4 separate regions of the Homo sapiens genome follow, and regions 1, 2 and 4 are each linked to region 3. Evidence: promoter capture Hi-C in human tissues and cell types (Jung and others, 2019). All regions are on one chromosome and are shown on one strand. The core of a region is centred on a gene start or on the middle of the fragment in contact, and the rest is flanking DNA. Distances in the headings are between cores, read along the strand shown. Region 1 has its middle 27 kb from the start of CDK20. Region 2 overlaps LOC105376131 (a long non-coding RNA gene). Region 3 holds the start of S1PR3 (sphingosine-1-phosphate receptor 3). Region 4 has its middle 12 kb from the start of CTSL.

Region 1 (7,601 bases), core at 2,901-5,400, 1.0 Mb after region 3:
CATCCACAGACACCTGCAGACATAACCCACAGCCTGCTTGGACTCTGCCAAGCACAGAGGATCAGTGGGCCCTTGGGGAGCTGCAGGTCTCCTGGAGTCCTAACCTTCAGTTCAGGCTGCCCCTAAGGGAGGCAGGAGCGCAGCCTGCCAGAGCCCCCCTTGGGGCTAAGGAAACATGGGGGCAATGCCAGTGATTGGAGGAGCTTCCCTAAGGCCTGAGAATGCACTTAGTGAGGGGGTCATCTCTCACTGCCCCCTCCTCAGTCTCCCCCACCCAAGAGTACTGCTGCAAACATGCTAAAATACAGAGGAGGCAGGTGGCTGAGAGCCTATCTGCTGACCCTTACACTTTAGCACCATCTACTGGATTATGGTTTTAATTACACCACCAAACGAAAATGCCTTCAGCGCACATCACCTGTGAAAGCCAATGCAGGTGTCTAGCCACAAATAAAGATCCTGTAGGAAGCCTTGGCCCTCTGAAAGCACCTAGAAACTAAACCTATCAACTATACTCAACATACCGCACAGTCAAACCTTCAATGGAAATAAACATATAAAAACAAAAAGCCACATCCAATGACAGCAATTTCAAAAAGACAAAGGAACATAAGCCCTCTCAGATGAGGATCAGTACAAAACGCTGGCAATTCAAAAAGTCAGAGTGTCTATTTACCTCCAAAAGATCACACTAGCTCCCCAGATTGAAATGGCTGAAATGACAGAGAATTCAGAATCTAGGTGGCAAGGAAGCTCAACAAGCAGCTAACAAACATATGAAAGAATGTGCATCATCACTAATCATCAGAGAATTCCAAATCAAAACCACAATGAGATACTATCTCACAACAGTCAGAATAGCTATTATTAAAAAGTCAAAAAACAACTGATGCTGGCAAGGCTGTGGGGAAAAGGGAATGCTTATATGCTACTGGTGGCAATGTAAATTAGTTCAGTCACTGTGGAGAGCAGTTTGGAGATTTTTCAAAGAAGTAAGAATTGAACTACCATTTGACCTAGCAATCCCATTACTGGATATATACCCAAAGGAAAACAAACCATTCTACCAAAAAGACACATGCATGCGTATCTTCATTGCAGCATTATTCACAATAGTAAAGACATGGAATCAACCCAGGTGGCCATCAACAGTGGACTGGATGAAGAAAATGTGATACATATACACCATGAAATACTATGCAGACATAAAAAAGAATGAAACTGTGTCCTTTGCAGCAACATGGAAGCAGCTGGAGGCCATTATCTTAAGTGAACTAATGCAGAAACAGAAAACCAAATACCACGTTTTCATTTACAAGTGGGAGTGAAACATTAGGTACAAATGGACATAAAGGTAGGAACAATAGACACTGGGGAACACGAGATGAGGTATAGAGAGGAGAACAAGGGCTGAAAAGCTAACTGATGGATACTATGCTCACTTCCTGGGTAATAGTCAATCATACTCTGAACCTCAGCATCACGCTATATACTTTTGGAACAAATCTGCGTATGTACACCCTGAATCTAAAATAAAAGTTGGAAAAAAAACCCCTACTCATTCCAAGAGCAGGCAGAAAAAGACAGAAATGGGAATGAACAGAAGATGGGACAAACAGGAAGCAAACTATTACAATGGTAGAATTAAGCTCAGTTATGTCAATAATATTAAATGTAAATGGCCCATCTAAACAGCCCCATTAAAAGGTAGATATTGTTCAATTAGATAAAGAATTAAGATTCATCTCTATGCTTCCTATAAGAAAAACACTTTAAATATAAAGATGCAAAGAGGTAAAAGTAAAAACACAGAAAATGATATACCATGGTAACACTGAGCAAAAGGAGCTATAGTGGCTAAATCAGTAACAAAGTAGACATCAGAGAAAAGACAATTACCAGGGTTACAGAGAGTCATTTCATAATGATAAGGGGTCAACTAATCAAAAGTTTATAACAATTGTATATATTTATGTACCTAATAATTTCAAAATACATGAAGCAAAAACATATAGGATTAGAAGAAAAAAATTAAAAAATCCAAAGTTATACTGGGGAGATTTCAATACCTTTTTCTCAATAACTGATAAAATAAAAATAGACAGAAAACCAGTGACAACATAGAAGACTGAAACATTATCGGCTGGGCGCGGTGACTCACACCTATAATCCCAGCACTTTGGGAGGCCGAGGCAGGTGGATCACCTGAGCTCAGAAGTTTGAGACCACCCAGGGCAACATGGTGAAACCCCATCTCCACTAAAAATACAAAATAATTAGCCGGGTGTGGTGGCGCATGCCTGTAGTCCCAGATACTGGAGAGGCTGAGGCAGGAGAATTGTTTGAGCCCCTGAGGCAGAGGTTACAGTGAGCCAAGATGACACCACTGCAATCCAGCTTGGGCTACAGAGTGAGACTCCATCTCTCTCTCTCTCTCTCTCTCTCTCTATATATATATATATATATGTATATGGGCCATTTACATTTGATATTATTGACGTAACTGAGCTTAATTCTACCATTCTAATAATTTGCTTCCTGTTACCATATACCATTGAAACACAATGTATCAATGTGTGTGTATATATATATAGTATCAATGTATATATGTGTGTATATATGTATCAATGTGTATATATATACAGTTTATGTATATATAAACTATATATATAAACTTGCTGTAATATTAATACTCTACCCAATAACATATGTTCCTTTAAAATGCACTAATAAGATTTCCAAGATAGACTGTATTCTTGGCCATAAAACAAGTCTTGATTAATTTTAAAAAGATTTAAATCATATATAGCAGACCACTGTGAAATCAAAGTAAAAATCAATAACAGTATCTCTAGAATATCTCCAAATACTTGGATATCAAACAGCACACTTCTAATTAAACCATGAATCAAAGATATCAAAGGGGAAATTAGAAAGTTTTTTTTTTTTTTCCTGAGACAGAGTCTCACTCTGTCACCCAGGCTGGAGTACAGTGGCATGATCTCAGCTCACTGCAACTGCCACTCCCAGGTTCAAGCGATTCTCCTGCCTCAGCCTCCTGAGTAGCTGGGACTACAGGCACCCGCCACCATGCCTGGTTAATTTTTGTATTTTTAGTAGAGACAAGGTTTCACCAGCTTGGCTAGGATGGTCTCAATCTCCTGACCTCGTGATCCACCTGTGTTGGCCTCCTAAAGTGCTGGGATTACAGTGACAATCAAAACACAATGTATCAAAATTTGTGGAGTGCAGACAAAAGGTCTGTATTAGAAAAGAAAGCTCTCAAATCAGTGATTTCAGCTTCCTACCTTAAAATACTAGAAAAAGATAAAAATGGATTAAGGACTTACATGTAAGACCTGAAACTGTAAAACTCCTGGGAAAAAAGTAAAGAAAAAGCTTCATGAAATTAAATCTTGGCAATGATTTAATGGATTTGACACAAAAAGCAGAGGCAACAAAAGCAAAAACAAACAAGTGAGACTATATAAAACCAAAAATCTTCTGCACAGCAAAGGAAATAATCAACAGAGTGAAAAGGCAACCTACAGAACAGGAGAAAATACTTACGAACCATACAACCAATAAGGGGTTAATTTCTAAAATATATAAGGAACTGCTATAACTCAATAGTGAAAACTCAAATAACTCAATTAAGAATGAGCAAAGAACTTGAACAGATATTTTGCCAATGAAGACATAAATGGCCAAGTGTCTGAAAAGGTGTTCAAATTCATCAATCATTAGGGAAATGCAAATGAAAACCACAATGAGATATCATTTCTGTATTAGTCCATTTTCACACTGCTATGCAGAAATACCTAAGACTAGGTAATTTATAAAGAAAAAGAGGTTTAATGGACTCACAGTTCCACATGACTGGGGAGGCCTCACAATCATGGTGGAAGGCGAAGGAGGAGAAAGTCATGTCTTACATGGCAGCAGGCAAGAGAGCGTGTGCAGGGAACTGCCCTTTATAAAACCATCAGATCTCATGAGAATTATTCACTATCACGAGAACAGCAAGGGAAAAACCACCCCCAATGATTCCATTACCTCCCACCAGGTCCCTCCCACAACATGTGGAGTTTATGGGAACTACAATTCAAGATGAGATTTGGGTGAGGACACAGCCAAACCATATCAATCTCATACCTGTTAGGATGATTATTATTAAAAAAAACAAAAGATAAAAGTGAGGTTGTGAAGAAATTGGAACTCTTGTACACTATTGGTGGGAATGTAAAATGGTACAGCCACGATGGAAAACTGTGGAGATTCTTCAAAAACTTAAAAATGGAATTACTATGTGATGCAGCAATTGCACTCCTGGTTATATATTCAAAGGAGTTAAAATTATGATCTCTAAGAGATATCTACACACCCATGTTCACTGCAACACTATTCACAATAACTAAGATACAAAAACAACCCAAATATCCACTGATATATGAATGGAAAAAGAAAATGTAGTATATATATATATATACAATGGGATACTGTTCAGCCTTAAAAAAAAGAAAATTCTACCATTTGTGACAATATGGATGGACATAGAAAACATTATGCTAAATGAATTCAGTCACAGAGAGACAAATACTCCATGATTCCACTTAAATGAGGTATCTAAAATAGTCAAACTTATAGAAGTAGAAAATAGAATAGTGGTTGCTAGGGGATAGGGGAGGGGGAAATGGGGAGTTGCTGAATGGGTGTATAAGGTTACAGTTAGACAAGATGAGTAAATTCTAGAGACCTGTTGTACAACATAGTGCCTACAGTCAACAATATGGTATTATGCACTTAAAATTTTAAGATCTCATGTTAAGTGTTCTTACCACATACACACAAAACAATAAACAAATAAACAAAAAGCAACAAAAGGACACAAGAAAACTTTTGTAGGGATAGTATCACGAGAATATGCATATGTTCAAACTCATTAAATTGTACACATTAAATATATATAGTTTTTAATATATCAATGATATCTCAGCAAAGCTGTTAAAAAATTAAGCTGACATACACAATAAGCACAACAAATTGGAAGAGAATATGAAAGTTAAATAAGCCAAAGGGAAAGATAAAGAAAATAAGCCAAAGGGACAGATAAAGATTAGTAACCATGAAATAGAAAAGAGAAAAAATATAAAGAAATGAATTAAAAATGGTTCTTTGAGATTAATAAAGTCATAGATTCTACAGATATTCAAAGGATATAAGAGAATATTAACAACTTTATGTTAATATATTCAACAACTTAGATGAAATTCCTTGAAATAGATAAATTACCAAAGGGCACTCAAGAATAAATATATCTATTAAAAATTAAACATAGTTAAAAACATACCCACAAAGAAAACCCTAAACATATATGGCTTCACTGTCAAATAGCACTATATATTTAAGGAGTAAATAATGTTGATTATACACAAACTCTTCTAGAAAATTGAAGAGGAGGAGACATTTTCCAACTTACTCTATAAAGCCAGTGTCTCAGTCCATTCAGGCTGCTATCACGAAATAACTTATACTGAGTAATCTATAAACACAAGAAAGTTATTGCTCACACTTTTGGAGTAAGGATAGACCAAGATCAATGTGCCAGCAGATTCAGCATCTGTCAATTCCTCATCGATGGCACCTGCTATGTGTCCTCACAAGGTGGAAGAGGTGAATGAACTCCCTTGTGCCTCTTTTATGAGAGCGCTAATCCCATTTATGAGGTCTCCACCCTAACGAAATAATCATCTCCTAAAGTTCCCACCTCTTAATACTATTGCATTGGTGGTTAGGTTTCAATGCAGTGAATTTTGGGGGAAACACAAACATTCAGACCACAGCAGCCAGCATTACTCTGAAACCTTTTTTGGTTTCAGAGCAGATATTACAGGAAAATAGATATTACAGGAAAATAAAACTGCAGATGATAATCCCCACCATGCACACAGACACAAGAATTATCCAGTTAATAAAAATGTAGCTAAATGAATCACACAATATATAAAACAGTTCATACATGATGACTAAATGGGGTTTATCCCAGAAATACAAGGTTGCTTTAATTTTGAAAATCAATTAATATAATGTGCCATATTAACAGAATAAAGATGAAAAATTCTATGACCATGTCCGCAGATGCAGAAAAAGCATTTTACAAAATCCAATATTAATTCCTGATTAAAAACTCTCTGGAAACTATGAATTGAAGAAACTTCCTCAACCTGATAAAGTATACTGACCAAAAACCTGCAACTAACATCGTATTTAGTGAAAAAATGCTCTTCTTCCCACGCCACAGGAGGACTTCCCAGCGCTCGGCGGCCCCCGCCCACCCCGGATGCCGCGCCCCCAGGCTTCAGCGCTGTGGTGCTCCTGAAGGGCACGCCTCCCCCTCCCCCACCAGGCCTGGTGCCCCCAATCAGCAAGCCGCCCCCCGGCTTCGCTGGCCTTCTGCCTAGCCCCCAACCCCGCCGCCGCCACCACCACCACCACCACCACCACCACCACCACCACCACCACCACCACCACAAAAGCACCCAGGCCGCCGCCTGCCCCACGGGCCTACCTAGTCCCCGAGAACTTCTGGGAGAGGAAACTTCAGCTCATCCAGTCCATCAGGGACTTCCTGCAGAGCGACGAGGCCCGCTTCAGCGAGTTCAAGAGCCACTCAGGGGAGTTCAGACAGGGCCTGATCTCCGCAGCCCAGTATTACAAGAGTTGCCGGGGTCTGCTGGGGGAGAATTTCCAGAAGGTCTTTAATGAGCTGCTGGTCCTGCTGCCCGACACGGCCAAGCAGCAGGAGATCCTGTCTGCACACACGGACTTCGGCAACCGCGAGAAGACTCTCAGCACCAAGTCCAAGAACAACAAGAAGAGTGCGTGGCAGGCCACCACCCAGCAGGCGGGCCTGGACTGCCGTGTGTGCCCCACCTGCCAGCAGGTGCTCACGCATGGCGACGCCAGCAGCCACCAGGCGCTGCATGCTGCCCGGGACGACGACTTCCCCTCCCTGCAAGCCATCTCCAGGATCATCACGTAGCTCCTGCCAGCGTGGCCAGAGCTATTGCACCATGAGCGTCCTTCCTCCTTCCTCTCCGGGCTGCCAGGCAGCCAGGTCAGGCCCGGTGAGGCCACCTGGCCTCTTGGTTGGCCAGGCCCACCAGGAAGTCACCAGGACGGTCCACCTGCCCTGTTGGCACACTCAGGCGGGAGTCCACCCCTGCCTCAGTGGTGGGCCAGTCTCGGTTTGCATTCTTGTGCTTTTGGGAGGCGCCAGGGGAGGGAAGGGCTGGGATGCTGGGACCTGTTGTTGCTGGCAAAGCCAAAGGTCACAGTGGCCTGATCTGGGCCCTCCCGAAGCTGAGGGCTGCAGCCCCTGCGGCCTCAGAGCTGAAAGCTGCGGCGCCACTGGTGCCAGAGTCAAGATGTCACATATGTGTGTTGTGTAAACAGTTGGCTGTTTCGTGCTTCAAGAATGTTCAGGATTAAAAGCAGACAAGAAATTGTGCTACTTGAAGTTGAATCTTTTTATGAGACAAGCTGAATCTGGGATCTCGAATTGCCTCTGACCTTTTATAAGACATTTTATCTTCAAATAA
Region 2 (6,887 bases), core at 3,200-5,699, 1.0 Mb after region 3:
GGACAAAAAAATTTTTTTTAAATCCAAGGAACTCAGAATAGCTAAAACAATCTTGAAAAAGGGAGACAAAGTTAAAGGATTTACATTTCTTGATTTCAAAACTTACTACAAAGCTACAGTAATTAAGATCAGGTAGTACTGGCATAAGGATAGACATGTAGATCTATATCCATATGAACAGAATTGAGAATCCAGAGATAAACTTATACATTATGGCCAACTGATTTTTGACAAGGGTTCCAAGACAATGCCAAAGGGAAATAATAATATTTCCAACAAACACTGCTGAACAACTGGTTATCCCTACATCCAGAGGAATAAGGTGGACCCCTGCCTCACACCATATACAAAAATGAGCTTAAAATGAATCAAAGACATAAATGTAAGAGCTAAAGCTATAAAAATCTTCAAAGAAAATATAATCATACATCTTTGTCATGTGGAATACTCAATGGTTTCTTAGATATTACACCAAAAACACATGCAACCTCCAAAAAATAGGTAAATTGGACTTCATCAAAATTAAAAATGTTTGTGCTTCAAATGACACTATCAAGAAAATGAAAGACAATCTCCAGAATAGGAGAAATATTTGCAAATCATATATGATAAGACAGCGGTCCCCAACCTTTTTGGCACCAGGGACTGGTTTTGTGGAAGATAGTTTTCCACGGATGGAAGTAGGGGGATGGTTTCAGGATGAAACTGTTCCACCTCAGATTGCATAATCTAGATCCCTCACATCTGCAGTTCACAATAGGGTTTGCACTTCTATGAGAACCTAATGCTCCCGCTAATACAACAGGAGGCAAAGCTCAGGCGGTAATGCGAGCTTACCAGCTGCTCACCTCCTGCTGTGCCAGTACTAGTCTGTGACCCTGGGGTCTGGGGACCCCTATGATAAGGAACTAACACCTAGAATAATACATAACTCTATTGTTATATAAGTCAGTGGTAAACTACAAATATCTTTAACGAAAATGGGCAAAGGATTTGAATAAACATTTTTTCCAAAGAAGACATACACATGGCCAAGAAGCACATGAAAAGAGGTTCAACCTCACTGATTATCAAGGAATTGAAAATCAAAACCACAATGAGATACCACTTTACACCCACTAGGATGGTTGGAATAAAAAAGACAATAGCAAGTGTTGATGAGGATGTGAAAAAGTTGGAACCCTCATACATTGCTGGTTGGGAATGTAAAATGGTGCAGCCATTTTGAACAGTGTGGAAGTTCCTCAAAAAGTTAAACATACAGTTACCATGTGACTCAGCAATTCCAATCCTATGCAGATACTAAAGACAAGTGAAAACATAAGTTCACACAAAAATTGTACATAAATGTTCATAGCAGCACTATTTATCATAGCCAAAATGGAAACACTCCAAATGTCCATCACTGATTAATATATAAACAAGATATGCAGCCTGGGCAACATAGCAAGACCCCATCTCTATGAAAAATTTTAAAACAATTAGCCAGGTGTAGTGGCATGTACCTGTAGTCCTAGATATTCAGGAGGCTGAGGCAGGAGGATCTCTTGAGCCCAAGAGTTCAAAGTTACAGTGAGCAATGGTCATGCCACTGAACTGCAGCCTGGGCAACAGAGGGAGATACTATCTCCAAATAAATAAATAAATAAATATAAACAAGATATGCTATATTTATTCAATGGAATATTATTCAGCCATAAAAAGAAGTACTGATATACATTTCAACGTGAATAAACCTTGAAAATATTATGCTAAGTGAAAGAAGCTAGGCACAAGAGGCGACTTACTGTATGATTCTATTTATATAAAATGTTCAGAAGAGGCAATTCCATAGGGACAGAAAGTAGATTAGTGTTGTCAAGGACTGGGGGAAGGGAGGAATGTATACTGACTGCTAATGGGTGTGGGCTGTTTTTGGAGGGTGACGAACTATCTGGATTAGATAGTGACAATGGTTGCAATCTTGTGTATGTAACAAAAACATTGTAAATATGCTAAAACATTTAATCATACACTTTATAAGGGGGAATTTTATAGTACGTGAATTCTATGTCAATTAAAAACTAACAGTTGGCCATATTAGTGTTAGTCTACTCTTGAACTTGATTCCCTTCCATCTATTTGTATGTCTGCCCCTCTGCCATATCATGCTATCTTGATTACAGTAGTTATATAAAACCTCTTAAAATTGGGTAGGGTGAGTCCTCCAACTTTATTCTTTACCTTCAAAACTTTAAAAAAATAGCTATTCTAGAGCCTTTGCTTTTCCATGTAAATTTGACAACCAGCTTGTCTCCATCTACAGAAAATCCTGTAGTTACCTGGTTGATGGTGCTGTTCAGTTCCTCTATACCCTTGCTGATTTTCTGTCGGGTGATTCTGTCAATTACTGTGAAGAGTGTTAAAATGCCTGACTATAATTGAGAATGTGTCTACTTCTTCTTTCATTTCTGTCATTTCTTTTGTTTAGTGCATCCACATTTTTGATTATATCTTCTTAGCGAATTCATCCTTTTATCATGATAACGTTCTTCTTTGATTCTGGTAATTCTCTTTGCTCTGAAGTCCACCTTATTTTCTAATAATGTAACCATTCTAGCATTCTTTTGATTAGTGTTTTCATTGTCTATACTTTTTTATTACTTCTTTTTTTTCTCTTCTCCTTTCTTGTTTCTTCTTTCTTCTTGTATAAATTTAGGGGGTACAAGTGCAGTTTTGTCACATGAATGTATTGTGTAGTGGTGAAGTCTGGACTTTTAGTGTAACCATCACCAGAATAGTGTACATACTCATTAAGTCATGTCTCATCTCTCACCTCCCTTCCACCCTGTCAAGTCTCCACTGTCTATTATTCTACACTCTATGTCCATGTGTATACATTATTTAGCTGTTACTTATAAGTGTGAATATGCCATATTTGACTTTCTGCTTTTGAGTTATTTTACTTAAGATAGTAAGCCGGGTGTGGTGGCTCATGCCTGTAATCCCAGCTCACCCTGTAATCCCGGGTGACAAGAGCAAAATTAGCTGGGTGTAGTGGTATGTGTCTGTAGCCCCAGCTACTCAGAGGCTGACATGGGATGGTTGCTTGAGCCTGGGAAGTGGAGGCTGCAGTGAGCTATGATTATACCATTGCACTCTAGCCTGGGCAACAGAGGAGCCCCTTTCTTAAAAAAAAAAGGAAAACGGGAAAAGAAAGCCAGGCACGGTGGCTCACGCCTGTAATCTCAGCACTTTGTGGGGCCGAGGTGGGCAGATCACCTGAGGTCAGGAGTTTGAGACCAGCCTGGCCAACATGGTGAATCCTCAACTCTACTAAAAAAATACAAAAATTAGCCGGCCACGGTGGTGTGTGCCTGTAATCCCAGCTACTCAGGAGGCTGAGGCAGGAGAACTGCTTGAACCCGGGAGGCAGAGGTTGCAGTGAGCCAAGATCCTGTCACTGCACTCCAGCCTGGGTGACAGAGCAAAACTCCGTCTCAAAAAAAAAAAAATATATATATGTATATACACGTATATACACGTATATACGTGTATATACGTATATACACGTATATACGTGTATATACGTATATACACGTATATACACGTATATACGTGTATATATGTATATACACATATATACATGTGTATGTGTGTATATATATATAGATATAAAAATGATATCCAGTTCCATGTTGCTGCAAATGACATGATTTTATTCTTTTTTTATGGCTGTTGGGAAAAGGGCTTGTGGGGTGCCTGCATAAACTGGCCATAAAAATATGGGACAATAAGTTGTGGAAAGCCACAAGAGGCCTCTGAGGAGGAAAGTCTTCTAATTGCCATAACGTTCCCATGACCAGAGCGTGACCTGCTCTCTTATCTATAAACACTGTGCTCAAGGAGAAAGACACTCCTTTGAAGCATTGGAATGTGGCCAGATATGCCGGCTCCTAGTTATGCCCACTCCCGATAGCTGCTCTCCAATAAGTTAAAGAATAAATCAGTAGTTAAGTTTATGCTGCTTCAGCACAAAGAAAATTTACCTAAACCGCCATTGCTATAGATTAGGTGTATGTCACACCGCCCCCCGCTTTCACCGTTTCACCCCTGAACATCTGCTTCTTAGATCTAAGTGACTGTACTCAATAAATAGTGTGGAGACCAGAGCTTGGCACCTTCGCAGCCTCTGATTTGTTCTGGCCCCCTGGCTCCCACCTTTATGAACTCTTAACCTGTCTCTTCTCATTCCTTTGTCACCACCGGACTTTGGGTACCCTACGGGTGGTGTTGGGGTTGGTCCCCAACATATGGCTGAGTAGTATTCCTGTATATACACATACATATATGTGTGTGTGTGTGTATAAAACATTTTCTTTATTCAATCATCCTTTGATAGACACCTAGGTTGACTTAGGTTGATTCCATATCTTTTCTGCTGGAAATAGTGCTACTACATACATACAAATGCAGGTACCTTTTTGATATAATGATTTCTTTTCCTTTAGGTAGATACCCAGTAATGGGATTACTGGATTGAATGGTAGTTCTATTTTTAATTCTTTGATAAATCTCCATACTGTTTTCCATAGAGGTTGTACTAATTTACATTCCCACCAACAGTATATAAGCATTCCCTTTTCTCTGTATCCTCGCCAACATTTTTTTTTCTTTTTTCTTTCTTTTTTTTTTTTTTTACAATTTATTTATTTTGAGACAGAGTTTCGCTCTTATTGCCCAGGCTGGAGTGCAATGGCACGATCTCGACTCACTGAAACCTCCGCCTCCGAGGTTCAAGCAATTCTCCTGCCTCAGCCTCCCTAGTAGGTGGGAGTACAGGCATGTGCCACCATGCCAGGCTAATTTTGTATTTTTTTAGTAGAGACAGGGTTTCTCCGTGTTAGTCAGGCTGGTCTCAAACTCCCGACCTCAGGTAATCCACCCGCCTCGGCCTCCCAAAGTGCTGGGATTACAGGCGTGAACCACTGTGCCTGGCCTTTGACTTTTTATTAATAGGCATTCTGACTGGTGTAAGCTGATATCTCATTTTAATTTTCATTTCCCTGATGAGTAGTGATGTTGAGAATATTTTCATATGCTTGTTGGCCATTTGTATGTCTTTGTTTGTCAAATGTCTGTTCATGTTCTTTGACTGCTTTTAGTGGGGTTATTTGGTTTTTGTTGTTGTTGTTAAGATGTTTGAGTTCTTTGCATATTCTGGATATTAGTCCGTCAGATGCATAGTTTGCAAAATATTTTCTCCTATTCTGCAGGTTGTTATTCACTGCGTTATTTTTCTGCTGTGCAGAAACATTTTAGTTTAATTAAGTCTCATTTGTCTATTTTTGTTATTGCTGTATTTGCTTTTGAAGTCTTAGCCATGAATTCTTTGCCTAGACCAATATCTAGAAGAATTTTTCGTAGGCTTTCCTTATGTATATTTATTTTATACTTCGGTTAATAATGTACTATTATATTTTTTATTTTCTTGGTCAAATTGTTCTAGCTTTGGCCATTAGGAATTCTTTCAGCTGGCTCCTGTGTCTCTATAACATACCCCCATCACTTCTTTTTACAACTTCTTAGTTTTTGTCACTACTTGTTTTCAAACTATTTATATTGTTATATTTGGAATGAGTTCGTTGTAGATGGCTTATGGTTGGGTCATGTTTTCTTTAGATTCATTCTGTTTGGTGTTCACTCAGCTTCATGAATCTCCCTTTCCGTATATTGCTTTTTTATTCTGTTGTGTCCTTTGATGCACAGAAGCTTTTAATTTTGATAAAATCAAATGTGTCTATTATTATTTTAAAATTTTGATTGACATATAGTAATTGTATGTATGTATGGGGTACATAATGATGTTTTGACAGGTACAGTGTCCAATACATAATGTATAAAGATCAGATAGGGTAATTACCATATCCATTATCTCAAATATTTATCATTTATTTGTGTTGGAAACATTCAATATCCTCCTTCTACTTATTTGAAACTATATATTATTGTTAACTAATATATAGTCATACCACAGTGCTACAGAACACTAGAACTTATTCCTTTTATCTAACTAGTTGTAATTTTGTATCCTTTAACAAATCTCTCACTATGTACCCCCCCTTCTCCACTACAAGTATGTTCTGTTCTACTTTTTACTTCTCTGAGATTAACTTTTCTTGGCTTCCACATGTGAGAATATGTGATGTTTCACTTTCTGTTCCTGGTTTATTTCACTTAACATACTATCCTCCAGTTCCATCTATGTTGCAGTGAATGACAGGATTTCATTCTCTCTGAGGCTGAATAATATTCCATTATATATATATACCACATTAAAAAATTCATTCATCTATTGTTGGACACCTGGGTTGATTCCATATCTTGGCTGTTATGAATAGTGCTGTGCTGCAATAAACATGGGGATGAAGATGTCTCCTCAACATACTGATTTCCTTTCCTTTGGATAAATATCCAGTAGTGACAGCACTGGATCTTATGGTAGTTCTAGTTGCAGTTTTGTGATGAATGTCCATACTGTTCTCCACAGTGGCTGTACTAATTTACGTTTTCATCAACAGCATATTAGAGTTTTCTTTTCTCCGCATCCTTGCCAGGATTTGTTATTTTAGCCATCCTAACTGGGATGAGATTATACCTTATTGTAGTTTTGATTTGCATTTCTGACAATTAGCATCATTGAGTACTTTTTCATATGTTTCTTGGCCATTTGTATGTCGTCTTTTGAGAAATGTCTTATCTAGATCATTTGCCCATTCTTAAACTGAATTGTCGTTTTTGTTTTGTTTTGACTGTTGAGATGTTTGAGTTCCTTGTGTATTCTGGATATTAATCCCCTGTTGGATGAATGGCTTGCAGATATTTTCTCAGATTCTGCAGGTTGTCTG
Region 3 (7,647 bases), core at 2,789-5,288:
ACCCTGCCAAGGTCAGAGGTGCCTACCTTCCCCCAACTTCCAAGGAGAAACATTGCTGGGAGGAGGGTGAGCCAGAGAGAGGAGGCCGGATGGATTCCAGATGTGCTTTCTATACTAGCGATTCGCTTTCTCTACCCATGTCAAGTTGAAAAATAAACAAACTATAAAAGGAAGAAAAAGAGAAAAAATAAAGAAAATGTTTCCACAGTCTGGTCTCCTTCCCAACACCCCCCTTTCTCTCTCCGCATAAAAGATAGGCACAATAAGATAGTAAGATAGCATCTTGGTCAGATGCAGGATGCTATATTTTTAATAGGCATGTACTCCCAGGGAAATTAACTAGTTCATCCTCCAAACTGAATCAAAACACCAAACATATGCCAACAAGCAAAATTTCTTGGAAAGCAAGATGTTTTTTAAAATTTCATTTAAAATAACTTGGAAAGGAAATAATGAGTCGGCCGTTACAAGGCTCCAGCAAAATTCCTTTGCTAATGAGTATTTTCCCTTGCTCTAGATTTCTTGGGTGACCTCGCTCTGCTTTTGGAGACAGTCCATTGCAAAATGCATGCTTCACACACCCAGCTGCACAGGCTTGGCCCATTAATGCAGCTCCCCTGAGAAATAACAACTGTTACAGACAAACCAGGTGAGGGTTTTGTATCTTTTCTCCCTTCTCTTCTTCAAAGCATGCAAGTCAGTGCACTTCCCTGGTTAGACTTACTGCTTCCCGGTGGCTTTTCCCCAAGTCCTTCTCCATCACAAATAAGGCTGGGACATTATGAGCTATCTGGGCATAGTCCAGGGAACCCCAGATATGGAGGCTGTGCCCCAGGAAACTCAGGCCCCGGCCCCGAGCATCTGCCTCCGTGAACACCATCCTGAGCTTCCAGACTTGTGTGTGGGAAGGCAAGTGCGTCTGAGCCAGGAGGTGTTTGACCGCTTTGCCTGTCCATGAGTCTTTTTAAACCTTCTCCATTCTGCTGCTGCTTCATGACAGCATAGGATAAATGATTCTCAAGATTTCCACAGGGATGAATCCACAGGGATGTGGAAATAGGCTCTGTGAGGTGGCTAAAGGCACATTCAAATAAGAGGCATCCTGCCCACGAAGGCTACCGGAGATCCTTCCTATCCCTTCCCAAAGCGGCAGTCTCACCTGGTGACTCGGCATGCGTGCCACCTTGCACCATGGACATAGCACACATGGCCTCATGGCAGCATCTGCCTTCTGAATGTACACAGGAGGAGACCGAGGCTGGGGGAGGGGGGGTGTCACTTGTCCTTAGTCACAGAGCTGGGAAGGGGCTGGGCCGGTGTCCGTGCCATCTGATTCCAGGATGTCACATTAGGGATGAGCTCTTTGGGAGGCTGCCACCTTGCCACTGGTTCTTTGCCTAGGTAGTGACAAGAGATTCTCTGGCATGTTTTAGAGACAAACTGCCTCATGCTCCCATGCCAGCAGAATGTTAGCATGTCATTCTGGGGGCACTGAAATATCTGGAAAATTTTGAAGCCAGGAAAATGGAGCGGCATCTGCAAGGCCGAAGAGCACCATCCACTGCTTGAGGAGCGGACCGTCACCTCGCTGTGTGAGCTGACCCCAGTCCGGCCTGTGAGCAGTGAAGATCCACTCACTGGGCACCAATCTGCACTGGACAATCTCGTCACTGATTTAACCCAACTGGCCTATTGTCTCTTACAGACACAGCTTCAATGCCTCAAAAATAGGATTCAAAAAAGGGAAGGAGACTTTATGCCCAGTAGCTATAACAGTAACATCAACTGAAACATGTTATTAACTGAAACTAGATACGATTCCACTCAGTCTATTCTTTTTCTTTTTTCTCAAACATTATACATTTCCAAAAGCTTAAGGAAAATCTTAAGGCAATTAATTTGGCAGAAAACATATGGCAGAGGAATAATAGGAAATGCCTCCAAAACTGATAAGAAAGGAATTACAAAGCCAAATATGAAGAAACAGAAAGTTTCATAGAACCCACAGCACAGCACCCTGGTTCCAGCTAAGGTAAACAGACTGCATAAGGCTGGCGGCCTGGCTCTGGTAACACTTGGGAAACAGTACAAAGTCCTGGCAGTTAAAGGGTTCTACAGCAGGGCAACCTCAGATTTTTCAAGATTGTGGCATGCTCAAATTCTCCTTTTTTTGGTAATAAAAATATACCTACAGTATATAATAAAAATATACATACAGCACAGGCATTGAGGAAGATGAAAGAGATACCATGAAATCAAGTTAATGTCATAATTTCCAGAAAGAGGAAACCAGTTCCTGAATTTTGAGAAATAAGATCCTTCGGCCACTATGTGAAGTTTCTTCTATAGGAAACTGTAGTCTCTACCCTTTGTATATGGTAGAAAATCAGAGACTCATGCATTTGAATAAAAATCACAATGATAAAGGGAGAAATGGCACTTTCAAAGATGAAAACTGGTTGAGAAATCATTCTCTCTAAATCTTAGGGGGAGGCTCTTAAGGGCTAGCTTCAGTTTGTATCTCTGGTGTTAGGTGATGGAAGTGATTTCAGAGGCCCAAAGTGAGTGCTTACTGGTTTGCTAATGAAAAAAGCCTGACGTGCGGTTCTTCTTCTATGGCAACAAAGTTATTCAACCTAGCATTAAGGTCTGCATCCATGAAATAATACTTTACAGATATGAACACTTCCACAACTCCTCAAGCGCACACACACACACACACACACATGCCCCGCACCATCACCACCTCCTCAACCAACACCAGCCCTGGGCATGGCCAGCTATCCTTGTTAGTCATGTATCTGCAGAGCATAATCCTTCCCTTGTACTTTCTAGGAATTATATTTTTCTTAACTATGCCTGCAAGATTTTCATCTATGAATAAAAAACATTGAAAAGATAAATTATGAATATGTGGTTATATACAAAGTCTGTGACTTCTAATGTCCAGATTTTAGAATGATGCCTAATTCTGGAGGTCTCAGAGGTCCAAGTGGGAGTGGGTACCATGAATGGGGGGGCCTCCATTTAAAAGTAACCTTCTAAAGAGCTCTCTGTTCCTGTAGCTCCCCTTTCCTTATTGGAAGGGTCAAAACGAAGTGTGTTCCCTTAAAAATCCAACAAGAAGTTCCTCTCTTATATCCAAATATAAAAACACCACAAAGAAATATACCATTGGGAGTGTCCAAAGCCAGAAAGTCAGAGGAAGAGAGAGAGAGAGAGAGAGAGAGAGACTGACTATTGGGAGACTCAAAAAGCCCAAAGCCCCTTCTCTAGCTGTTATCTCAGTTACGAACACAACGTACTGATTTTCCGTGGGAACCTCATTATTGCACTGTGGGGACTTCGTCTTCCAGCACCGATTCTGACGGCCCTAATTGCCTTGTTTGAGAAATGTTAGGAAAAAACTAATTTTCCGGCGAATATTGTTTAAAAGAATGATTTTCCCAGGCTAACGACCACAACCCTCTCCCACGTCCAGCATCCCCAGGCCCTGGCACTGTGGAAGCCTAACTTGTTAATTGTCCAAGGAAAACGACTGATGGAACTTCTCCACGAACAGCCTCTCCACTTTCATCCAGGTATTCAGCTCCAGCCCGTTGTAAACGCTCCGGGTGCGGTGGAAAAGGCCTCCTCCCTGTTCCTGCAGCGGCTCTGGGGGAGGGGTGCTGATGTGGAGCGCTCCGGCCGCCGTGGCGCGCCCAAGTCCCCGTCGCGCCCGGGATCGGTGGGGATTTTGTTGGAAAGGTGGGTCCTTCGGCCCCCAGCCCCCCACCCTGGTTCCGCGCCCCGCCCGGGCCCGCCTCTCACCTCCGTCGGCTGAGGGCGCTGGGGCCACCGGCATCCTAGCGGGTGGCGCGCGGCGGTGCCGGGGCGCCCGGTCCTGCGCTCGAATGCCAGATGGGCTGGGAGGCCCGGCAGTCTCAGCGCTCGCGACGTCGTTCCCGGGCCTGGGGTCCTGCTCGGTCGCGTCCTGCAGCCGCCTTCTGGTCCCTGAGTCCCTGTTGCCCGTCCCCGGAACCGGCTTCCTCGGCCTCTGCCCGAGCGAGTCAGAGACTAAACTTTTCCAGCGGCCCGCCGGGGCGGGACCCGCGCTCCGCCCCTCCCCTCGCCGCCCCCGACTCCCGCCCCTCTCCCCGCCCCCCTCTCCCCGTCCCCCGCCCGCGAACCCGGCACTCCTCCAGCTCCCCACCTCCCGCTCAAGCCGCCTGGTCTCCGTGCGCCCCGCCCGCCCCTAGCCTGGACCCCTTCTCCCCGACCCTACCAATCCCCTAGGGTCCGGCTCGCCCTTCGGCCCCTGTTCCCAGGCCGGCCTCCAGACCTTGTCCTCATCGGGCGAGCTCCAGGTGCAGAAACCGGGCGCCCAGAGACCCAGCGGGAACAGGCTTGGAACCAGGTCCGAGGTCTGGGCTTGGGCGGGCGCCTGTCGCCCTGACAGCGAGGGTTTGTTTGGGCCGATTCTTAATAGGAGGATTAATACTATCATTATCGTTGTCCAGATCCTGACCATTTCTTTTGTAACTGGCCGAGCACCGGCTTGGGCTTGCAGGTGGGCGCCTGGCGCCGGACAGCGTTTTTGTTTGGGCTTCTTCCTTTTCCGCGCGGGTCCCCTCCGGCGCCTGCCTGGTCCCTCTCCGCGCTCTACCCCCAGGCACGCAGAGACTTGGGCTCCAGGCGGGGGCAGCACTCTCCCCCAGCCTCTGCTGGTGCACCAGAGCCCACTCCGGCACAGAGCAGCGCCCCTCCTAGACCGGCAGCCAGCAGATCTCAGCCGACCCCCATGCGACCCCCTTCCTCACGCGGATTTGCCCCTTTTGTGTGGCAAAAATAATAATAATAATAATAAATCCATATGAAGGCTTCAAACAGAATTCCGAGAGAAGGAACTGCCAAATTTTCAATCAATGCCAAAGGCCATGATTGAGCGAACACAGAAACAACTGTAGAAGCTTGGGGAGAAAGGAGAAAATTAAAGAAAAAGGAGGAGGAGGAAAAGGAGAGAGGAGAGAAGCGGGAGGAAGAAGACGAAAAAGCAAGGAGAGGCCTGTTATCCGACCGTGCATTCCTGGGCCGGCAGGATTGGGCCGCAGGGGCCGCTGCAGAGAGTTGAGTTTGTGCAAAGGCCGCTCGTTACTTTCTGTCTTTTGCCCTCTTGCCTCCAGAGGATCAGCCCAGCGCATCCTTCTCTTGGAGCAGGGTGCATACGCTTATTTGGGGTGCAGTTTGAGCGGTGAAGGGCACCAAGAGTGGAAGTCGGCGGCACTCCTGTTCCCTGCAGAGAAACGCAAGCCCTCAGCAATTGAGCTGAAGGAGGCAAGTGACTCTGCCTGCTGAGGCTGCCAGCCCTAGAGGCTCTGGCCCCCGGGAGCTGGGGTACTTCCCAGCGTTTTCGCCTAAGCCACTTCGCCTGTGCTACTGTGGAGTCTTCCGGCACTGTAGCCTTCCAACTTGTTCAAAGTGCCTGGTGCACGGCTCTGAGAAGCCACTTCTGTCCCAAGTTTCATGTGGGCCTGAATGTGCTTCCCTTTGTTGGACTCCTACAGCATCAAGTCAAGAAAAGAAGGAAACATGCTCCTTTGGCATTGGTCACAACCAGGATAACAATACAGCATACTGTGGCCACTGTGTCTATATTACCAAAGTGGTCAGTAGGTTCATCACACCTCTGTTCAATTAGTTGCTTCCCGTGATGAAAAATTTACTGCTAGGATACTGGCTGAGGGTTGTTTTAAGGGGCACCCAAGTCTCCGTTCCTAGAGAAAGTCAGTTACCCTGATATAACAGAGCAACCTTGAGGCGTGGTGATGCCTCCAAAACTAGTCTGCGGAATCGGAGCCCAGAAGCCCTGAGGAGTAATGTGGCTCTCATGCTTTATGGCAGGTTTCCCTAAGAGAGACCCAGGATCTGACCCATGGCATCACTGAAATTCCTCTTTCAGTGAGGCTCCGTTTGCCTAAAGATCCCTGTCCTCAGTGGGTCTCCCCACACACGGGCCTCTCACTCACCCACTGCCCCACCCCCATCTGCTGCCCTCTTCCTGGGCCTTAAAGCTCAGACACTAGACTCTGACAAGGAGCCCTCCATGCCCCGGTAGAGACCATCTTCTCTCACCACTCCTTTTGAGAGAAACAGCCCTCCCTACAATTCTGTTGAATAAGTCTCCTCCTCTGCATCCTGTTTCACAAGTGAAAGCAGTTTAACAGAAGAATGCCAGCTCATAAACGTAGAAATGCGAGAATGAGGAAATCCCCATTCTGTAACCCTTAATGAAATAATTAAATCAGGCAGTGTGCACTAGTGGGTGTCAAACCCTTAGGTGAAAGTGTGCAGGCGAACGGGTGCTAATTGGAAAAAAAAAAGAAAAAGGTTTTCCATTTTCCATTTTTTTATGGAGACATCTGGCTGTACCTTACAGGAAGATCAAACTCAGTGTCACTAATACTGGCTCAACCTGGCATTATGTGATGCAAAAGAAACACACAACATCATTGTTGCTGTGTGCTTGCCAAAGATGCTTCAATTGAATCAATTGCAAAGCCTCTAGACTTTACTGCAAGTTTACAGGAAATGGAAGAGTTTGAGCCATGAGTTAAATGACACCATGGGAAAAACTGGACTACCAGAGTGTGGGCATTCTGCAGTCCTGAGCTCTTCCAAAAAAAATCAATGTCAAGAAAAAGGGGTGAAGGATTCTTCTGGTATAAGAACAGCTGAAAAGAAGAAGTATAACAATAAGTACAAATCCGGATTGACTCCCAGCTGGACAAATCAGCACACACACACGCACACAAAAACATTTTGGAGGAAATTACAAATTGGAGGGGATATTGACTGATAGTATAGAATTATTGTTAATGTTTTTAGGTGTGATAATGGCATAATGTTTGTTTAGGAGAATGGCTTTAATTTTAGGAGGTGCTGCTGAAGTATTAAAGGGTAAAATGTCTTCATGTCTAAAACTTATTTTAAATTGTTCAGCACAGTACGTGCACATAAGCTGATATGACAAAAGGTTGGTGATTATTGGTTCTACGTGGTGGATTTAGGGAAGGGGTTGTACAATCTGTTCTCCTTCTTTGTATCTTTGAACTTTTTCCATAATAAAAAGTTGGAGAAAAATAAAATGGCAGGTACTAAACAACTAAAAAATTTCTCTACCTTTGCGCTTAGACTTTAAATCAAATCTAGGCTTATGGGAATAAAATTGAAAGATACTATGAGTTATATCTGTATACTTTTGAAAATCATGTGGCCCCAAACTTAAATATGATTTGAATAAATGTATTATATATCACAATTATGTAATATAACCTTACATGCTTTTTTAATTAAAAAAATGAAATATATTCACTTTCCCAACAATTTAGTGTCCACAGCCTGGTGAGCAGGTACAGTGTGGTTAAAGGACATGCAGTTTTAAGATTCAAACTCAAAGTGAGCCCTTTCTCCAGCAGAACGAGTGCACCGCAGGAGAGCAGAATTGTCTCAGAAGAGCTGAGTAAATGCACCTCCTTTCTCGGTCCCCTCTGCCCTCCCAGCATCTGCTTCCAGGATCCCAGGGTGCCTCCCCAAGTTTCTGGGTCTGAGTTAATCTGCACTATCTCTACTCTTAGCTCTGTTTAGCGTAAAGGCTGCAACAGACAGTCA
Region 4 (7,112 bases), core at 2,605-5,104, 1.3 Mb after region 3:
TTAGTTCCCAGAAAATGGGAGGAAATGGTCAAGTGTTGATGAAGCCTGAAGTTTACAACCTCTCCTTAGGCCTATACTATAATTCCCATGGCCACATTCTCATGTTCAGTTTTATTCAGGCACTAACAAGGACAAAGGTTGACAAACATAGAAAAGGAATGCTAGAATCTCTTTAATGGTGTGGACATTCTCTTCATCAGCCTCATGAACTCAGATTTGGGATGATGCTTCCTGGCTGGTGCTGTTCTTCCCCACACCTTGTCTTCCTCCTAGCTGACTTCTCTGCATCACTTGCATGGCGGAGTGTTCAGGGAACTTGAGGGATCTACACACTCTATGTACAGACCTCATCCAGGCTGTGCCAAATAGTATTTTAGAATGGTCAAGGTTTAGTGCCCAGGATCACCCATCCAGAGGCTTTGCAAGGGTTGGACAGACATGGCCCTGAGAGAGCCCATGGCTTGATGAGCTGAGTGCAGGCTGAAGTTCAGGCCCCACAGGCCCTCCCTCTAGCAACTCTGAGCAATCTACATAGTCTGCATGAGCAGACAGATAATCTGCTGCTGCATACAGGACAAACAGAGCTCACCCCTGCTCACTAAGGCTCACCTCCTAGGATGCCTCCTAGGCAGGCAGAAGTTAAGGCTGGCTTGCCACACTCACATTCTAGGACCAGGGACCTGCACCTGCCCTTGCTACGCTGACCAGTCTCCCAGGCTGTCACCACTGCCCTTGGAAGAGCTCACACTGCTGATATTCCAATCTCCTTTCTTGCTCTTGCCAAGAGGTGGCAAGAGGGTCTCCTTATTCACCTGCCCACTGAAAACCAAAATTTTTTTTTTATTATAGTAAAATAGACGTAACATAAACTTGACCATTTTCACTATTTTTGAGAGCGGCATGAAGTTCATCGCATTGTTGTGCCACCATCACCGCCATCCATCTCCAGAACTTTCTCTTCATCCCAAACTGAAACTCCTAACCCATTCAACAGTAAATCCTCATATCCTTTTCTCCTAGCCCCTTAATTTAAAATGGATAAGGATAGTATTTTTGAAATAATAATGTTTATTTCCTGTTGACTTTCTTATTGACAATCTGCCCTTGATACAGGCAGAGGTATCCATTGTCTTGGGAATAGTTAAGATTGTGAAAGGGGAAATGGAATGAAAAAGAGCCAAATGTTTGGGGTTTAGCTTCTATTAATAAAACAAAATTTTTGAGACCCTGGCTTTCAGCAAAAAGCCAGTCTTTATAAACAGAGGCAAATGTCCTTCCAAATTCCAACAGGCTCCTGGGAAGCTGGGTGGGCACTCAGGATGGCCTCGCTCCAGGTCACCTTGCCTTGCGCCACTGTCTTTAGGAGTGAAAACAATCCATAAGCAGCATCATAGCTGTGCCAACAAATAGTGGGGCGGGTATCGTGGAGGAGGATTCAAGGCGTCTTTATAGCCTGGAAGACAGAACAAGGGATGAGAAATACAGGTGGTAAGTGTCAGCTCACGTAGGAATTAAAATCTGCTTTTCCAATCCTCCATCTCTGGGACCATTTGAGCGGAGACCGACTGACCCTCATATTTCATGGCGGGTGATGCTCTGGCTGAACTTCGAGACATCCCATTTCCTCCTGACTGTTGGATCCTATGCCCCTATGTTAAGAGCAACCAGAAATACTGTGCTTCCTAAAGTGTGGCCCTCCCGCAGGGACCTTGGGTAAGTTTCAGTGTTCAGGGGATGGAATAAACATTGTCATGAAATATGTCATGAGACGGGGCCTGAGGGCTTTTCCTGAACTTCTATGCATAGCAAAGAGCAAAGGCTCCTGAGCAAACAAAACACAGCAATAAACCTTTAGAGTCATGTTGCCCATGGTGAACTTTTCACAATTCCAGGGAAATGGAGAAAAATGAAGAGCACTGGGTAATTTTTTTCCCCTAAGATTAAGTTATTCCATTGAAAGGAATGTTAATTATTCTAGGACTGTAACCTTCCCACTTTCTCTCTCTCTTTTGTTTCCTTCCTTCCTTGCCTTCCTTGCTGCTTTTTTTTTTTTTTTTTTTTTTTTTTTTTGCTCTGTCTTGCTCTGTTGCCCAGGCTGGAGTGCAGTGGCACAATCTCGGCTCACTCCAGCCTCTGCCTCCCGGGTTCAAGTGATTCTCGTGCCTCAGCCTCCCCGGTAGCTGGGATTACAGGAGCGTGCCACCATGCCTGGCTAATATTTGTATTTTTAGTAGAGACAAGGTTTCGCCATGTTGGCCAGGCTGGTCTTGAACTCCTGGCCTCAAGTGATCTACCCGCCTCGACCTCCCAAAGTAATGGGATTACAGGCGTGAGCCACCGTGCCCCGCCCTTCCTTGCTGCTTTAATTTTTTTCATTTGGAATTTTTTTCTCTATTTATTAATTTCTTTCTTTCCTTCTCTTTCTTTTGGGGCACTATGATTGGTGACAGCATTGGATAGTTATTGTAGTTTCTGTGTTCTTTGCAAAACAAAGTGTCAGAGTGTCAGTCCTCCATGTTCTTTATAAAAGTTTGCTATTTCATAACATTCCCAAAGTGTGGGAACCACTGGCAATAGCAAGGCGTCTCAAGGTTTAAGAGTCAGTTAAAAAAAAAAAAAAAAAAAAAAAAAGGCGGCCAGGCACGGTGGCTCATGCCTGTAATCCCAGCACTTTGGGAGGCCAAAGTGGGCGGATCATGAGGTCAAGAGATCGAGACCATCCTGGCCAACATGGTAAAACCCCGTCTCTACTAAAAATACAAAAATTAGCCAGGTGTGGTGGTGCGTGCCTGTAGTCCCTGCTACTCAGGAGCCTGAGGCAGGAGAATCACTTGAACCTGGGAGGCAGAGGTTGCAGTAAGCCGAGATCGCACCACTGCACACCAGCCTGGCGACAGAGTGACAGAGCAAGACTCCATTTCACAAAAAAAAAAAAAAAAAAGCTACTCTTTATTGAAAATAGCTTTAAGGGGCAGAGAGAAGTTATAAGATTCCTTTTTATTTCTCATTTTCAAATAAAAAATGAAAATAGTAATTCCAAAATGACAAGAGAGAATCTATTCAAGCGTTTAGTGTACTTTTGCCTGGCTTATGGAGGGATAAGATAAAAATGTCACTGGGTGAAAACAATGAGATAAATTCACAGCTGGGAACATTGCACAATATCACCAGTGTTGCATGTTTGCTCAGTAGCTGGCTGTTCTCCATGTCAGCAGGATGTATGTGGCTTGTTTTGACTCCAGGTCCTCCAGGAGTATGTGTCCAACCACCAAGGTGGGCAGCAGAGTTTGGAGGCCAAATCCTTTGGTACCTGGAGCGGGATAGCAATGGAACCACACAGAGAATGGCCCAGAGCACTGGGAAGGGTGCCTTCTCAGCAAAAGGCACCTGCACAGAAATTCAGCCCATAAAGCCAGGCAGAGAAGGACATGAATGACAATTGGATAATGAGTGTTGGCATTAAAAAGCATTTAAAATAAGTCACTAGACAATTAAACTTGCAATGTCAGAAAATCTTACAGCTTATGTATAATCAAATGAAACTAAACTTGATAGAGTGTTCACCAGATTTGACAGTAATCTTTAAAATTTATGACATTGCCTGTAATGGGTTTTGAAGCTCAAAGTTTTCTAAACTGGTAATAAATGTAATTATTGAGTAATTAATCTCTTGTGATGGTGGAAAGAATGAATTTTTTCCGTTCTTGCTAAAAGAGTAAGATTATAAAAGCTGTTATATGTAGCAAAAAATTTGGTAAAAATTATTATAAAGTGTGTTAGCCATTGATTAATAAAATAATGTTTTTCTGGAAGAAAAGAAAACCAGATAGAGTGCAACATAAATGCAAAGTTTTGCTCAGCAATTAATGTTTTCTCTTTTTGGATTTTAATTGTTATGTGCCGACAGCCCAAAAAGCCACATATATCATGTCCAGTCCGAAATACAGAAAAAAATGTGCATAAAGATGTTTAGCCCAGCTTTGTTTTCAACAGGGAATAACGCCTGAGTGTTTCACAGTAGGGAATTGGGATATGACAATATTATTATAGCATTTTGCAGCCGTTAAAAGGAATGTTTCTGAAAAGCTTCTAATAACATTGTAAAAAAGCTGTGTCATAATCTTCCGTTTAAAAAAAGCAGGGTATAAAATTGAACACTTCATATGATTTCAGCTACATTAAAACATGTCTAGAAAATACAACCAAAGGGAATAAAAACTTTCATTGCCTCAAATTACCCCAAAGGGAAAGGGCAGCCCATGGCCAGGAAGGGCCAGCCTCAGAAGGACTGAAGTTGCTGACTTGTGCCTACGGCGGCAGCAGCTGCTGGTTTCTCCTTCCATGTTAATCTGGGTCACAGAATCTCGTGATTTACAGAAGCAGCTCTGGCTCATTCTTGGGTGACTGGCCTGCCTTCTTGGAAGACAGGATGATGCTCATCAACGCTGGCTGTGACGCAACCTGAGGACTCTGCAAACCTCCCGTGGGGTCACACACTGGGGCAGAAGCCCCAGCATCTGAGTGTCCGCTTTGAGGATGGAGCGAGTGGGATGGGTGAGGCAGAGAGGAAGAAACTTCTCCGGATGTCCTGGTTAGTCACCCTGATTGTGGGAAATGCACACTCATGGCTGAATCAGCAAGAATCAAGTCTCTTGGTCAGAAAAAAAAGCCATTATGGCCTAAGAATCTCTCATGACACACACACACACGACACACCACACACACACCACACCCCCCCCACACACACACCACACACACACCACACACCAAACACACACACCACACACCAAACACATACACACCACAAACACCACACACCAAAAACACACACACCGCACATACACACATCACACACACCACACACACCAGATACACACATGCACACACCACACACACCAAACACAACACACACCACACATATACACATACATATGCCACACATATGCGCACACCCCACACACACACCACACACGCACACACCACACACAACCATACCACATGCACACCACACACGCACACACCCTACACACCTCACACACACACCACACACACATCACATAAACACACACCACACACACCCCCACACACACCACATGCACACACACCACACACACAAAGCACACACACATGCACACACATCACACACACACATATATGCACATACCAAAGACACAGACTTACCCCCATATATACATGTGTATACACATGCGCAATACACATATACACATGTGCATATGCACACTAACTCTGCTACACATATGCACATGACACACGCACATACATTAATATACATGTACACAAATGCACACATTTATGCACAAAATACAGATGCATACACCTGCATATCCGTGTACTCTCATGACACACACATGCACACACACATACAGACTGCAGTGTAATATACTTAGTAGAATAGGATGAGGGGCCCTCAGTTGGGGTCAGATGGCCTGATGCTTAGTCTGAATTGTTAATAATTGAACTGTGTAATTTTGCCTGAATCTTTTCATCTCTGCTTCCAGCTGCCAGAGTGCGGTTGACTCAAACCATCTGGAAGTTCTCTTTAGTTGTAAAATTCTGTGATTTCAATGGAAAAGATGGTATCATTCATCCAGAGCTCACCTGAGCTCCTTCTCTCTACCCTGAGGAGAATCCTGGGGGCTGGAGTCACAGCATAGGGTGCTTGGGAGGCCGTCCTCACCCAGCACCAGCCCCAAGAGTGTTGCCACCAGGGATAGCCCAGCGTCCCCGAGGACCTCTGCTGTGGGCATTCCTGTGGCTTCTTCCCCCTCACACCCACACACTTCTTCCCTCCTTTCTGATAAAGAATCAAGAATTTGCCGTGGGAGCAAATAGGCAGGAACCAGCAAGCTTCTGAGGCCCAGCGCTTCCAGGAAGAGATCAGCAGCTGTCTGTCCTGAAGGTATTTCCAGGGTTCCTTTCTGCTCAGCGGAGGTGGAAGGGAGCTCACTGCTCCTTAACTCTCCCTGTCAGAGGTGCCCCTGGTCCACCCTCTCTGGCCATGGCATTCATTTAGGGCAGACAAGCGGTTCCTGTCCTGAGTCAACATCTGGAAGCCACCAGGCCCTGGGCTGGGAGGATTTGGAGCCTGTCATCAGCATGTGACTTTTGGTTGTGATGCTACAGTCTGACCTCACCCTCAGGTTGCCACCCAAAGCCCAGCTATGCTCCAGATCGCTGAAGATTGCCCTTGAGAGCAAATTCCTCAGGCAGCTGTGGAGCTGAGCCCTGAGGACTCAGTGAGCCAGGGCTGGGCCCTCACCCTCACACTATTCCTCATAAACAGTTCAGTTTAAGTTCTCAGGAATGCATAGTCCTGCAAAGACTGTGGCGCTGGGTCTCAAATACGAATTCAAACTAAAAACAAAACCCTCTGCCAATCAAAAGAGGAAAGAAGCCAAACAGAACTCTCACTTCTTCCCCCTCTGAGGACCACTTTAAAGTTTTTTTTTTTTTGAAATAACAAATATTAAATTCTTTAAAAAGCAATCAATCCCTTTTCCTGTTCCCCTTTTCTGGGGGGCTCCGCTTGGCTGAGCTGCTCTAAATACAGTAGGTAGTCTTGTACATTACTCTGCCAGCTTTATTGTTACCTGGACATTTTTAGGTTTCAGCTTTATCTTTTTAGTTTTTTTTTTTTTTTTAAAGAAAACTGTGGTAATATAGAGAAACACAAAATTTACTACTTTACCCAACTTGAACTGCACAGATCAGTGGCATTCAATACATTCATATTGTTGTGCCATCATCACCATGCCCTCCAGAAACTTTCTTCATCTTGCAAAACTGAAATCATCTTTTAATTCATTCATTCGTTTATTTTGAGATGGAGTCTCGCTCAGTCGCCCAGGCTGGAGTGCAATGGAGCAATCTCATTTCACTGCAACCTCTGCCTCCCGGGTTCAAGCAATTCTCCTGCCTCAGTCTCCTGAGTAGCTGGGATTACAGGCGCCCCCTCACCACGCCCAGCTAATTTTTTTGTATTTTTAGTAGAGACAAGGTTTCACCATGTTGGCCAGGCTGGTCTCGAACTCCTGACCTCAAGTGATCTGCCTATCTTGGCTTCCCAAAGTGCTAGGATTACAGGTGTGACC

The links. Contacts are between HindIII fragments. The study calls those that stand out against the background at their distance.
Region 1: a contact is called between a fragment that was not itself captured here and the fragment with the promoter of S1PR3 in region 3, in 1 of the 25 tissues and cell types used here (thymus).
Region 2: a contact is called between a fragment that was not itself captured here and the fragment with the promoter of S1PR3 in region 3, in 3 of the 25 tissues and cell types used here (dorsolateral prefrontal cortex, hippocampus and small bowel).
Region 4: a contact is called between a fragment that was not itself captured here and the fragment with the promoter of S1PR3 in region 3, in 1 of the 25 tissues and cell types used here (dorsolateral prefrontal cortex).

The regions. Positions count from the first base shown.
Region 1 is chr9:87,943,712-87,951,312 of GRCh38, reverse strand. It overlaps the pseudogene LOC645937. Among named protein-coding and RNA genes, the nearest start is that of CDK20, 27 kb to the left of the region's middle. The HindIII fragment of the contact is 9,656 bases long and covers 1-7,601 here.
Region 2 is chr9:87,981,550-87,988,436 of GRCh38, reverse strand. The region is part of intron 1 of LOC105376131 (a long non-coding RNA gene); the gene reads right to left. Among named protein-coding and RNA genes, the nearest start is that of CDK20, 10 kb to the right of the region's middle. The HindIII fragment of the contact is 6,657 bases long and covers 1,121-6,887 here.
Region 3 is chr9:88,987,859-88,995,505 of GRCh38, reverse strand. S1PR3 (sphingosine-1-phosphate receptor 3) reads right to left here and starts at 4,038. Exons shown (of 2, transcript NM_005226.4): 1 at 3,811-4,038. RefSeq lists a silencer at 4,198-4,492. The HindIII fragment of the contact is 13,055 bases long and covers 1-6,803 here.
Region 4 is chr9:87,711,051-87,718,162 of GRCh38, reverse strand. No RefSeq gene overlaps it. Among named protein-coding and RNA genes, the nearest start is that of CTSL, 12 kb to the left of the region's middle. RefSeq lists an enhancer at 3,577-4,776. The HindIII fragment of the contact is 5,621 bases long and covers 1,044-6,664 here.